2 separate regions of the Homo sapiens genome follow, and region 2 is linked to region 1. Evidence: promoter capture Hi-C in 16 types of primary human blood cells and fetal thymus (Javierre and others, 2016). All regions are on one chromosome and are shown on one strand. Each heading gives the region's core, a stretch centred on a gene start or on the middle of the fragment in contact. The rest is flanking DNA. Distances are from core to core; before and after follow the strand shown. Region 1 holds the start of PLAG1 (PLAG1 zinc finger). Region 2 has its middle 15 kb from the start of LINC01617.

Region 1 (5,239 bases), core at 850-3,349:
CTATGGGAAAGATCAGGACGTCCAGGCCAAAGGAGACCAGCCTTTGCAAAAAAAAGAATGGAAAAGGGTTTGGTTATTCTGGTGTCCATTAAGTAATCACTGAATAATAATTTTATGATTTTCATTGAACAATACAAGAAAATAACCAGCCAACAGTAACATCTTGGCAAAAAAGAAATCAAGATGCTGTTCAATTATATCTACAAGCTTCTTCCTCTCCTGAAGACAATTTTTTTCCACACTTCCCTTCTTCCTAAGAGAGATGATGATAGTAAATAAATTCACAGCTTTCTTTTTTACACCTATCCTATGATGTGAGAACACAGAACTCTTCATACACCTTAGATTTAATAATCTCAACAAGGATCAGACAACCTTGCATTAAATTTAAGTTTCGTGCCTTACATGAAAGTATCCTACTCTATATTTTATTGTCAGTCAGAAATTCTTCAAAAATAATACCTAGGTAACATCACATATACCCAGTTCGAGTTTGGTGCATGAGTTTCTTCACATTTCATTTCCTTTTCCTTCCGGATTCTAAATACAAGGCACTCTAAGTTTGGATTTCCGAAAGTCCCCTCCTTTGCATGAGTTCCTCGTGTATTAACTGGAATTGAAGAGGAAATGTCAATTTACAGTGAGGAGCGGGGCTGAATTACAACATCGAGTGCTCCGCTAAAGGGGCCTTGTCTATTACTTTTTGAATGTACTAAATAAATGTTACAAGGCTCTACTACTTGCAGAGCATAACCAGAAAGAAAAACCAAGCAAAGATATGAAGGAGGGGCCACAAAACCATAGCACATTCAGGGGATAACTCTAAAATCCACTCCAAAGGGCAAACTGCTTAATAAAGCAGTTCCTGATTTCCCATCCAGTGGTTCACGTCCCCCCTCTCTAAGTAGCTTTGAAAGGGCAGGGGGAAGGAAACGTTTCTGAACACGTTCATGCCCACACGCCCCGTGGTCGGAGCCCAGGCAGGGTCCGCGGCTCTGCTAAACCCGGAAGCTGCACACGCCGTGCCGTTAACCCACTGCCAGGTGCAAAGTGGAAGGGGGCAAGAAGTCAAGGGTGGCCTGCCGGAGGTGGGCGCGCAGGGCAAGGAGAAACGAAGGGCGAACCCGAGGCCTCGCCGCCTTCCGCGGTGTAGCCCGTCAGCATCTGATCCTGGACGGCGCGCACAGGTGAACACACCTTGCTGTGCCGAGACCATGCCGAGAGAGACAAGGGGCGAGGAAAACGCAGGGAACTGGGGGTGGGGCCGGTAACTGCGCTTCAGAGGCTACACAGGAGAGTGGAAGAAGAGCTGGGGTTGCCCGGACTAGGCAGAGGTCATCTTCCTCGCCCCCGGAGCGAACAGACCCGTGTGGCGGGAGGAAGAGCAACGGGAAGAGGTCCGCGCTGCGGCGAAGCCTGGCGGGAGCGCCTCCGCGCCGCAGAAGTGCATTCGGGCCCCGCTACGGCCCAAGGGCACCCCTCTCTCCCCGCTTTTCTGCGGCCGCTTCGGAGGTAGGGCGGGGGAACCACTCACCTCCGGCCTCCGCTTCGCCAGCACCCAGGCCGTCTCCAGCTCCAAACACGTCAATGGCTCACGCAGCAGGACCTTAAGTAGCGCGCATCCCAACTTGCTGCCCCCGCTCCCCGGCGGCAGCCCGCCCAATCGGCGCGCGCCGCCGCCAGACTGACAGCCGCGCGGGGCCCTGGGCCGCAGGGGCGGTCGGGCCTCGCCCCGCCCCCGCCTGGCGAAAGGAGGGCCGAGGCGGGAGGAGTGGGCGGGGCGGTGAGCGCGACCCCGCCCCCTCTTCCCCCGCCCCACCGCGCCCCCCAGCCGCGGCCCGTCTCTTAACACTTCGGCTTGACGGGCGGCGTCGCGGCCCAATGGGCGGGCCAACTCCCGCCAGCGGCGGCTCCGAGTGGCCAGCTCTCGGGCGGAGCGCGCGCGGGGGGCGGGCGCAGCGGCGGGCGGGGTTTGGGGGCGGGCCGACGGGAGGCGGGGGCGGTGGCCGAACAGGCAGGGGGAGGCAGCGGTGGGCGCGACGTCGGCGGCGGCGGCGGCGGCGGCGGCGGCAGCTGCAAGTTGGGCTGCAGGGGCAGCGCATACACTACAATGGCTGCTGGAAAGAGGCGTAAGGAAACAATTTCCAGGCCCGCCGCGTCCAGCCCGAAATATGAGAAAAAAATTATTAGAAATTCCGCGGGCGGTGTAGAGGCGGCGGACGGGCCGGAGGGAGGATGTTAAAGCCCCGCGGTGAGTTCTCCGGGGGTCCGGGGCGGCGGCGAGGCGTTTAGCGGGAGAAATATCAGGGTTATTTAAATTATGGGACTAGCCGAGGGGGCAGAGGAGCAGCGGCGGCGGCAGGAGGAGGAAAAGTTTGTGCTACTCTCAGCCCCTGCTCAGGACCCCAGAGAGAAAAATAATAATAAAAAATAAAATAAAATAATTACGCGGGGCTGCGAGGACTCCCGAAGTCGCTTCTGACAGGGCAGGGGGCGATGCGGCTGGGGACCCGAAGGTGAGGTCGGTGGGAAAAAAAAAAAAACCTTTATTCAGGGTCTGGAAAGTTTGAAAAGTTTTCCTCCTCCTCCTCCTCCTCCTCCTCTCTGGTGCTGTGAATATTGTGACAGCGGCAGCGGCAGCAGCGAGAGCGGAAGACATTAGAGACCCGAAAAATAAGGGAAAAATTAATATAAATTCAGTTTTGAGAGTAAACTCTCCGCATTTTCCACCAAAACATCCCGGGGGAAGGTCGCTTCCCAAAGGGCCTGGCGGAAACCCGCAGTCGGCAATATTTGGGGGGCACTTTGAGTGACTTGGGGTAACTTTGCCCCTTTTTCAAAAGAGGTTTTTCTTTTCTGGAGAAATGAATTTGTTTTTGCCCTTTCCTCAGGTGGGCAAGCCGGGGTCGGGGTGCGGGGTCTGCAGGGAGGTGTGAGCCCGGGGTGTGTGGCTGCGAGGGGGGGTAGGGGGAGGGGGTGCTAAATGAAAGCAGGAGATCGGCACAGAGCAGGGACAGCTTGTTGTCAGTATCATAAACAACCAAAATGGAGGGAGAACTCAGGCATATAACCAAATAAAAATTTTTAAAAAATCGCAAAAAATCCCTAAAAATCCGGGATGCTCCCCCTTTTCTCGCTAAAGGTAAAAGTATGTACCGCCTTTCCCCTGAAGTCCATTTTGACTTTGCAGGGACCAAGGAGTTAATATTTATTTATTTTTTAAAACTTTCGAAGGGCAAAAGCCTTTTATAACTCAACCGACAATGAGAAAACGTGAAAATCCGATGCAAGAGAAGCAGGGGGAGCGAGGGGGGAGGTGGTAGTGCAGAAACTGCTAAACTTATTGGTAATGTGGACTGATCTCAGATAAGATAAACACTATATTTGCTATTTTATAACTCTCTTTTAATGATCTTTGCGGGGTTTTTTTGGGTGGAAAAAAAAGTGATGCCATTTTCTTAATAGAGTTAATATGTGTGATTGGAAGAATGAACCTTTCCGGCTTTAGATTGCATTTTCGTCGCATTTATGCTTCAGGTTTTGTTAGTGGCTCCCTCCTTTCTTTAAACTGGGCTCTGCAGAGGAGGGATAGAGAGGTGATGGTGCTCAGAGAGGCTGGAGTGCAAGGCTGGAGTACCTTTTGGGGAGGGATGTGGAGTTGCTTGGTTTCCCCCTTCCTGACATGTTTGCTTCACCTGTTCATCCTTCCTAAAGAATGTTAAGCTGAGGTTTTCTGGTTTTATGTGTATAAAAGGATGATGTCTCTTGCATCACATTGATGTTAATGGGAAAGTGCTGCTGATGTTGGTTCCACGTGGGATATGGGACAGAGCAGGGCATTTTAAAGGGACAGCTTCTCTTTTCTTATGGTTTTCATCACCTACACAGAATCACTGTCTGAGGACCAAAAGCAGAGGTGCTGGGAGGGTGTGGTGATGGAAGAGCCTTCCCTTTCTGTTACTCCAGTGCACCCACCCATAGGAGTGATGGAGGGACAGGAGGGATAAACAGCCTCAACCGAAGATGGATATGTGTATAGTTTGTATCCAAACTGTTCCTTTGTGTAACAAGCCCTCCCAGGAACTTTTCATGTTACATTGCTTTGCTTTGGAAGCTGATTTTGGAAGGAATTGTGGAAAAATGGAAATAGTTTAAGGTGTGTGGTGTAATGGTATAGCATTATTGAACAGTTATGAATTCTGTGCAGTGAGATCAAAGAGCTGTGTATGCCCATAATGTGATTTTACAGCCATTTTGTAAAAACTGTAAAATACCTTAATATTCAATTTGGCTTAAGGTACATTGAGGACTTCTGGTTGAAAATTACAGAGTGGTGAAGATTCTTTAAAATTGTAAGCAGTAGGCATTTCTTTAGGGGGAAGGAAAGCACACACACCAACACCATGGAAAAGTTTACACATCCATTTTTAAAGTCCATCCTATGCATGGGTTGTAACTTTGCGCCTTTGAAATGAAAAGATTTTTAAAATCCTGAGCCCTGTGAGTTTTCATTTTCTAAGTTGAATTTATTTGTGTTATTTAACAGAAAGTGTTTACTGACCATAAACTACTATCGGCTCTTATGTTTTAGATTTCCACGATATTTTCAAAATTTAAAATGTGTAAATTGTTAGCTGTACTATAATGGGGATTAAGGTTAATCTTCAGTAGAAATTACTTGTGTTCCATTTTCCACAGGTATATGGAGTTTCTGAAATAAATCCTTATTTCCTCTTGTTTTTATTATTTATAGACATGGATTAAAATTAGAGCTGAATTTTTAGACTTCTTATATAGAATGTTTTTTCTTGCCCTACTGTATAAACAAGTTATTATTTTTGTAGTCTATTGTATGTTAACTTGTGTTTACAACTGAGTTCTTCCAACTTTCTGTAAATACCTCTATACAACATCACATCAGTAACGTGTTTGAGTACATCATCTTGTGGTTTCTGATTTTGGAAGCAATTACAACTTTCTAAGAACTCATTAAAAGATTAATCTCATCACCCACAGTTAAATCAAAATTGATTGGAAAAGGATTAAGCTATCAATAGAGAAGGGAAACTCCTCCATGCCCAATGATCTTCTGTCCAGAGGTTTCAGAATGCCATTAAGACTTACAAAGCCTTTTCATTTTATCTTACGTTTTCATTGTATTTTGGCTCAAGACAGTTACATTGACTATAAGTAGTCAGAATTATGCTGTGCATTTAAAATAAATGAGACTTAGATCTTG
Region 2 (5,145 bases), core at 2,301-4,800, about 18 Mb before region 1:
GTTTTATCATGCAGCCATAATCAATTATTAACTCAATCTCCAGCTTCTCTCCTCTCCCTATACGTTTGGGGGTGAGGGGGGCTGAAAGTTCCAGGATTCTAATCAAGGTGCCATCTTTCTTTTTTGTTTGTTGTTGTTGTTGTTGTTGTTGTTGTTGTTGAGACAGAGTCTCGCTCTGTTGCCCAGGCTGGAGTGCAGTGATGCCATCTCGGCTCACTGCAACCTCCACCTCCCAGGTTCAATTGATTCTCCTGCCTCAGCCTCCCAAGTAGCTGGGATCACAGGCGCACACCACCACACCCAGCTAATTTTTGTATTTTTAGTATAGACGGGGTTTCACCATGTTGGCCAGGATGGTCTCCATCTCCTAACCTCGTGATCTGCCCACTTCGGCCTCCCAAAGTGCTGGGATTACAGGCATCAGCCACCGCACCCGGCCAAGGTGCCATCTTTCTAGCCTCCAACCTGAAGCTAGTTATCTAGGGGCCTGCTAAGAGTCACAATATTAGAACAAAAGGTGCTCCTATCACTCAGGAAATTAGGAGTTTTAGGAGCTCTGTGTCAGGAACTGAGGACAAAGACCAAATATATATTTCTCATTATGCCACAAATCTTTTACATATTTTTTCTGTTCCATTCATGTTATTTTTCTGCAGAAACCATCATCTATGCCTATATATTTAATAACACTTTTGTGACTTTCATATCTATCATATCTAATGTTCTTTTACTCTGTCTTTTCAAACTATATCCAGCCTGTGTTGAAATTTCTCCTGTTGGCCAGGCACGGTGGCTCACGCCTGTAATGCCAGCATTTTGGGAGTCCGAGGCGGGTGAATCATTTGAGGTGAGGAGTTTGCAACCAGCCTGACCAATATGGTGAAACCCCGTTTCAACCAAAAATACAAAAACATTAGCCGGGCGTGGCGGCGCATGCCTGTAGTCCCAGCTACTCGGAAGGCTGAGGCAGGAGAATCGTTTGAACCCAGGAGGCGGAGGTTGCAGTGAGCCGAGATCACACCACTGCCCTTCGCCTGGGTAACAGAGTGAGACTCCATCTCAGAAAAAAAAAAAAAATTTCTCCTGTTGTTTTAAAAATGTATTTTTACAGTTAGTTCTTTGAGTCAGGATCCAAACGAGGTTAACATATTGCATTTGTTTAATATGTCTCTTGGGTATCTTTTAATCTATGAGAGTTTCCCTCGATCTCCCTTTTATACCATTTATTGAAGAAACTAAGTCATTTGTTCTGTAGAATTTCCTATAATCTGACTTTGGCTGTTTGCAGCCTCTTGATGTGGTTTTACAAGTTCCTCTATTTTGCACTTCACTCACTCTGTATTTCCTATAGACTGATCATGAGATATAGGTCTTGATTACATTCTTTTGGTAAGAGTGCTTAATCTATTACTTCCTAACCACCTTCAGGAAGCACATAATATCTGGCTGTCCCACTTTTACTGACATTAAAATTAATCAATAAATTTATGTGTGTCCGTGTGATTCATCCATTATTAGACTCTTCCTCAACTTTTCAGCTAATGGTTTTAACACGAATTGAAGATCAATGCCAGACTCCATTATTTTACTAGGGTTTGCAAACTTATTATTCTTTAAATCTCTCATTGCTTTTATGTGCAATACATATTTATATTATGTATAGATACGTCTATGTATATAGTTATGTGTTTCATTTTGTCACATTCCTTATTTTGTTGCTCAAACTTATCTTCAGCCAGTAAGATCCCTCTTCAAGGCCAGCTTCTCTAATCCTTTTAAACTGTTATTTTTCATTTCATTTGATACAGCCAATTAAGTAAAAGGAAGCAATATGATGAAGTTTAACATCTACCTCAATGATTCTCAATTTCCACTGGAGTGTGAACTTGAATTCCAGAGTCTGAAGAACGCTCTGTTTTTTTGTTTTCTTTTGTTTGAGACGGAGTCTCGCTCTGTCCCCCAGGCTGGAGTGCAGTGGCGCGATCTCGGCAGCAAGCTCCGCCTCCCGGGTTCGCGCCATTCTCCTGCCTCAGCCTCCCGAGTAGCTGGGACTACAGGCACCCGCTACCGCGCCCGGCTAATTTTTTTTTTTTTTTTTTTTTTTTTTTGTATTTTCAGTAGAGACGGGGTTTCACCGTGTTAGCCAGGATGGTTTCGATCTCCTGACCTTGTGATCCGCCCGCCTCGGCCTCCCAAAGTGCTGGGATTACAGGAGTGAGCCACCGCGCCCGGCCCACTCTGTTTTAAATAACTTACCAAACAGTAAAATTCTTGTTCTACAGAGACGTACCATGTCTATCTTGTGGTTTTATAATTCCTATGTCATATCATAGGAGAATATGTCCCCCAGTCCTATGGTATTATAACATAAAAAGCTATTAGGAGTCTTCCTCCACCTCAAAACCAATGTACATCACCCACACAGCCTTCCATCTTCAGACTCCTAGCATTTTGAAACACTTCTCTCTCTCCTTATTCTTTGACCTCTCAGACTCTCTTTAGGCAATGAAAATGCTCAAATCTCTTTCTAAAATAAGCAAATAAAAAACTAAACTGTTCCCTACTCTTGACTTTGCATTTATCTCATTTCCCACTTTCTTTTCTCAGATTAAGCTTTTTTTTTTTTTTTTTTGAGACAAAGTCTTGCTCTGTTGCCGGGGCTGGAGAGCAGTGAGGTGCCCTGGTGCAAACCTAGCTCACTGCAGCCTTGAATGCCTAGGCTCAAGGGATCCTCCTAACTTAGCCTTTAAAGTAGCTAGGACTACAGGTATGCACCACCTTGCCCAGCTAATTTTTTATTTGTTGTAGATAGAGATGGGGAGAGGGGCCCTCCCTGTGTTCCCTAGGCTGGTCTCAAACTCCTGGCCTCAAGCAATCCCAATCCTCCCCTCCCAGCTGCTTCTTCTCTTTTTTTAGACAGAGTCTTGCTCTGTCGCCCAGGCTGGAGTGCAGTGGCAAGATCTCGCTCACTACTGTAATCCCCGCCTCCCAGGTTCAAGCGATTCTCCTGCCTTAGCCTCCCCCATAGCTGGGATTTCTGGCTCTCGCCACCATGCCCAGCTAATTTTTGTACTGTTTTAGTACAGACGGGGTTTCCCCATGTTGGCCAGGCTGGTCTCAAACTCCTGACCTCAAGTGATCCGTCCACCTTGGCCTCCCAAAGTGCTGGGATTACAGACGTGAGCCACTGCATCTTGCCCCCTCCCTGCTTCTTAAACTGTTGAATTTTAGGTGTGAGCCACCGCACCTGGCTTCAGTTAAGCTTCTTGATGTATCTATTTCTTCAGTTACCAGTTCACGCCACAACTCATTCCAACAGAAAATATGGTACTCGCTACTGAGTACTGATTCCTGAGGACCTTTTTTTGGCTTCTAAATGCTCATGTTCCCCTAGCTTCTGACTTCAGCATCATGTTCTTCTCTTTCCTAATCTGTATTGGGGTGATCTCTTTATTTTCCTGGTTTAAATGTAATCATTTTACTGAATGTGCTGGACTCCATGTGGTGCTGTTGCCTGTTATCCTTTCAAACCTGCTTGATGGGCTTTCTCTGCCCTGGATGAAATCTCAGAAAGTTGCCAGAACTGCTCTAGTCCCTCTATCACAAGAACAGCCTCTTATCAGACATTAAAATGTTCAAGCCATCTAATGTTATCACAATCAAAAACTTCTACTTAAATGAGAGTTTCTCCCCACCTTCTCTCAGCTTAAGGGCCGGAAACTTGTGGTGTAGAATTGTCTGCTGAATATACTGAATATATTCCTTGTAGTAGTGGACATCTGTAGTTTATGTTTCTCTGGCATCTCTTATCTCCTCCCATTTTAGTTTAAGAAGCTTCTTCCTTCTGGGATGTCTCGTTACACGTGACCTGGGCGGGGCTGACCACCCCCACACTGCAGCCACAATGCTGTAAGAGTCAGCCAAGACCTAACCAATCAGAGTAAATACCTCACTTCCTTCATCACTATGATGATTAGTTGAGAGATGGAGCTGATTAAAGCCAATCAGATCTTTGTAGCTAGAACTATCCCTGGGGCTGCTGAGCTGGTAGGAGGGATATGAGCCTGGAGACTGGGGGTTATTTTGTTCACACAGAGACACAGAAAAAGTGGCCCTCCACTTCAGCTAAGCTTCTGTTCCCACAATTTCTTAAGGAATTTATTTTCCCCTCCCTATTTGAATTCATTTGAGATGGGTTTTACAACTTACACTTGAAAAATACCTGACTGAAATAGATGACCTATAGGAAACTTGAAAATCTCAAACATGTCCAAAAGGGAATTCTTTTTTCTTCCTCTTCTACTTTCATTGCCTCCATTTCTACTAACTCCTCTATTTTCAAACCAGAAATCTAGCACTCAACTCTTTCCTCCTCCTCCTTCCCTACAAACAACAGATCTCTCAGTCCTGTCTGCTCTCCCTCCTGTCGCTAGAGCCCTTCCCTTCCTTTCCATACATGTCCTAGTCCATCCTCACTTTCTCACTCCTTGGCAATAGCTTACTTTCCTGATTTTTCTTTGCTGACTTTACCTGATCAAATCTGTTCATCCACTAGAACAATCATTCTAAAACACAAGTCTGGTTTATTGTTTTTGTTTTTGTTGTTGTTGTTTGTTTTTTGAGATGAAGTCTCGCTCTGTCGCCCAGGCTGGGATACAGTGGCATGATCTCGGCTCACTGCACCCTCCGCTTCCCGGGTTCAAGCGATTCTCCTGCCTCAGTCTCCCAAGTAGCTGGGATTACAGGCACGCACCACTATGCCTGGCTAATTTTTGTAGTTTTAGTAGAGACGGGGTTTCACCATGTTGGCCAGGCTGGTCTCAAACTCCTGACCTCAGGTGATCCACACTCCTCAGCCTCCCAAAGTGCTGGGATTACAGGCGTGAGCCATTGCACCCAGCCTGGTTTACCACTTTCTATTTGGAAATACCTCGAATGTGCCAAATGATCTCTAAGATCAAGTCCAGCCCCCTCATTAGCCAACAGAACCTTCCATGAAGGGCACATGTTCTGAGAATCACCTCAAGGCTGTGTCACAGGCTAAATAAATAAAACCTTCCATGACCTGGTCTTACTTGCCTCTTTGGTCACATCTTCCACTCTGTCTTTACAATTTCTGTTAGGCAATACCAATCTGTTTGTCAT

The links. Contacts are between HindIII fragments. The CHiCAGO score rates a contact against its expected background, and 5 or more counts as called.
Region 2: a contact is called between a fragment that was not itself captured here and the fragment with the promoter of PLAG1 in region 1, in 1 of 17 cell types (non-activated CD4 T cells). The highest score is 5.2, in non-activated CD4 T cells.

What each region holds. Positions count from the first base shown.
Region 1 is chr8:56,208,133-56,213,371 of GRCh38, reverse strand. PLAG1 (PLAG1 zinc finger) reads left to right here and starts at 2,099. Exons shown (of 5, transcript NM_002655.3): 1 at 2,099-2,251. CHCHD7 (coiled-coil-helix-coiled-coil-helix domain containing 7) reads right to left here and starts at 1,583. Exons shown (of 4, transcript NM_001011671.3): 1 at 1,535-1,583. RefSeq lists an enhancer at 1,405-1,474 and silencers at 1,487-1,712, 1,555-2,114. The HindIII fragment of the contact is 9,849 bases long and covers 210-5,239 here.
Region 2 is chr8:73,891,899-73,897,043 of GRCh38, reverse strand. No RefSeq gene overlaps it. Among named protein-coding and RNA genes, the nearest start is that of LINC01617, 15 kb to the right of the region's middle. RefSeq lists an enhancer at 3,754-3,833. The HindIII fragment of the contact is 572 bases long and covers 3,265-3,836 here.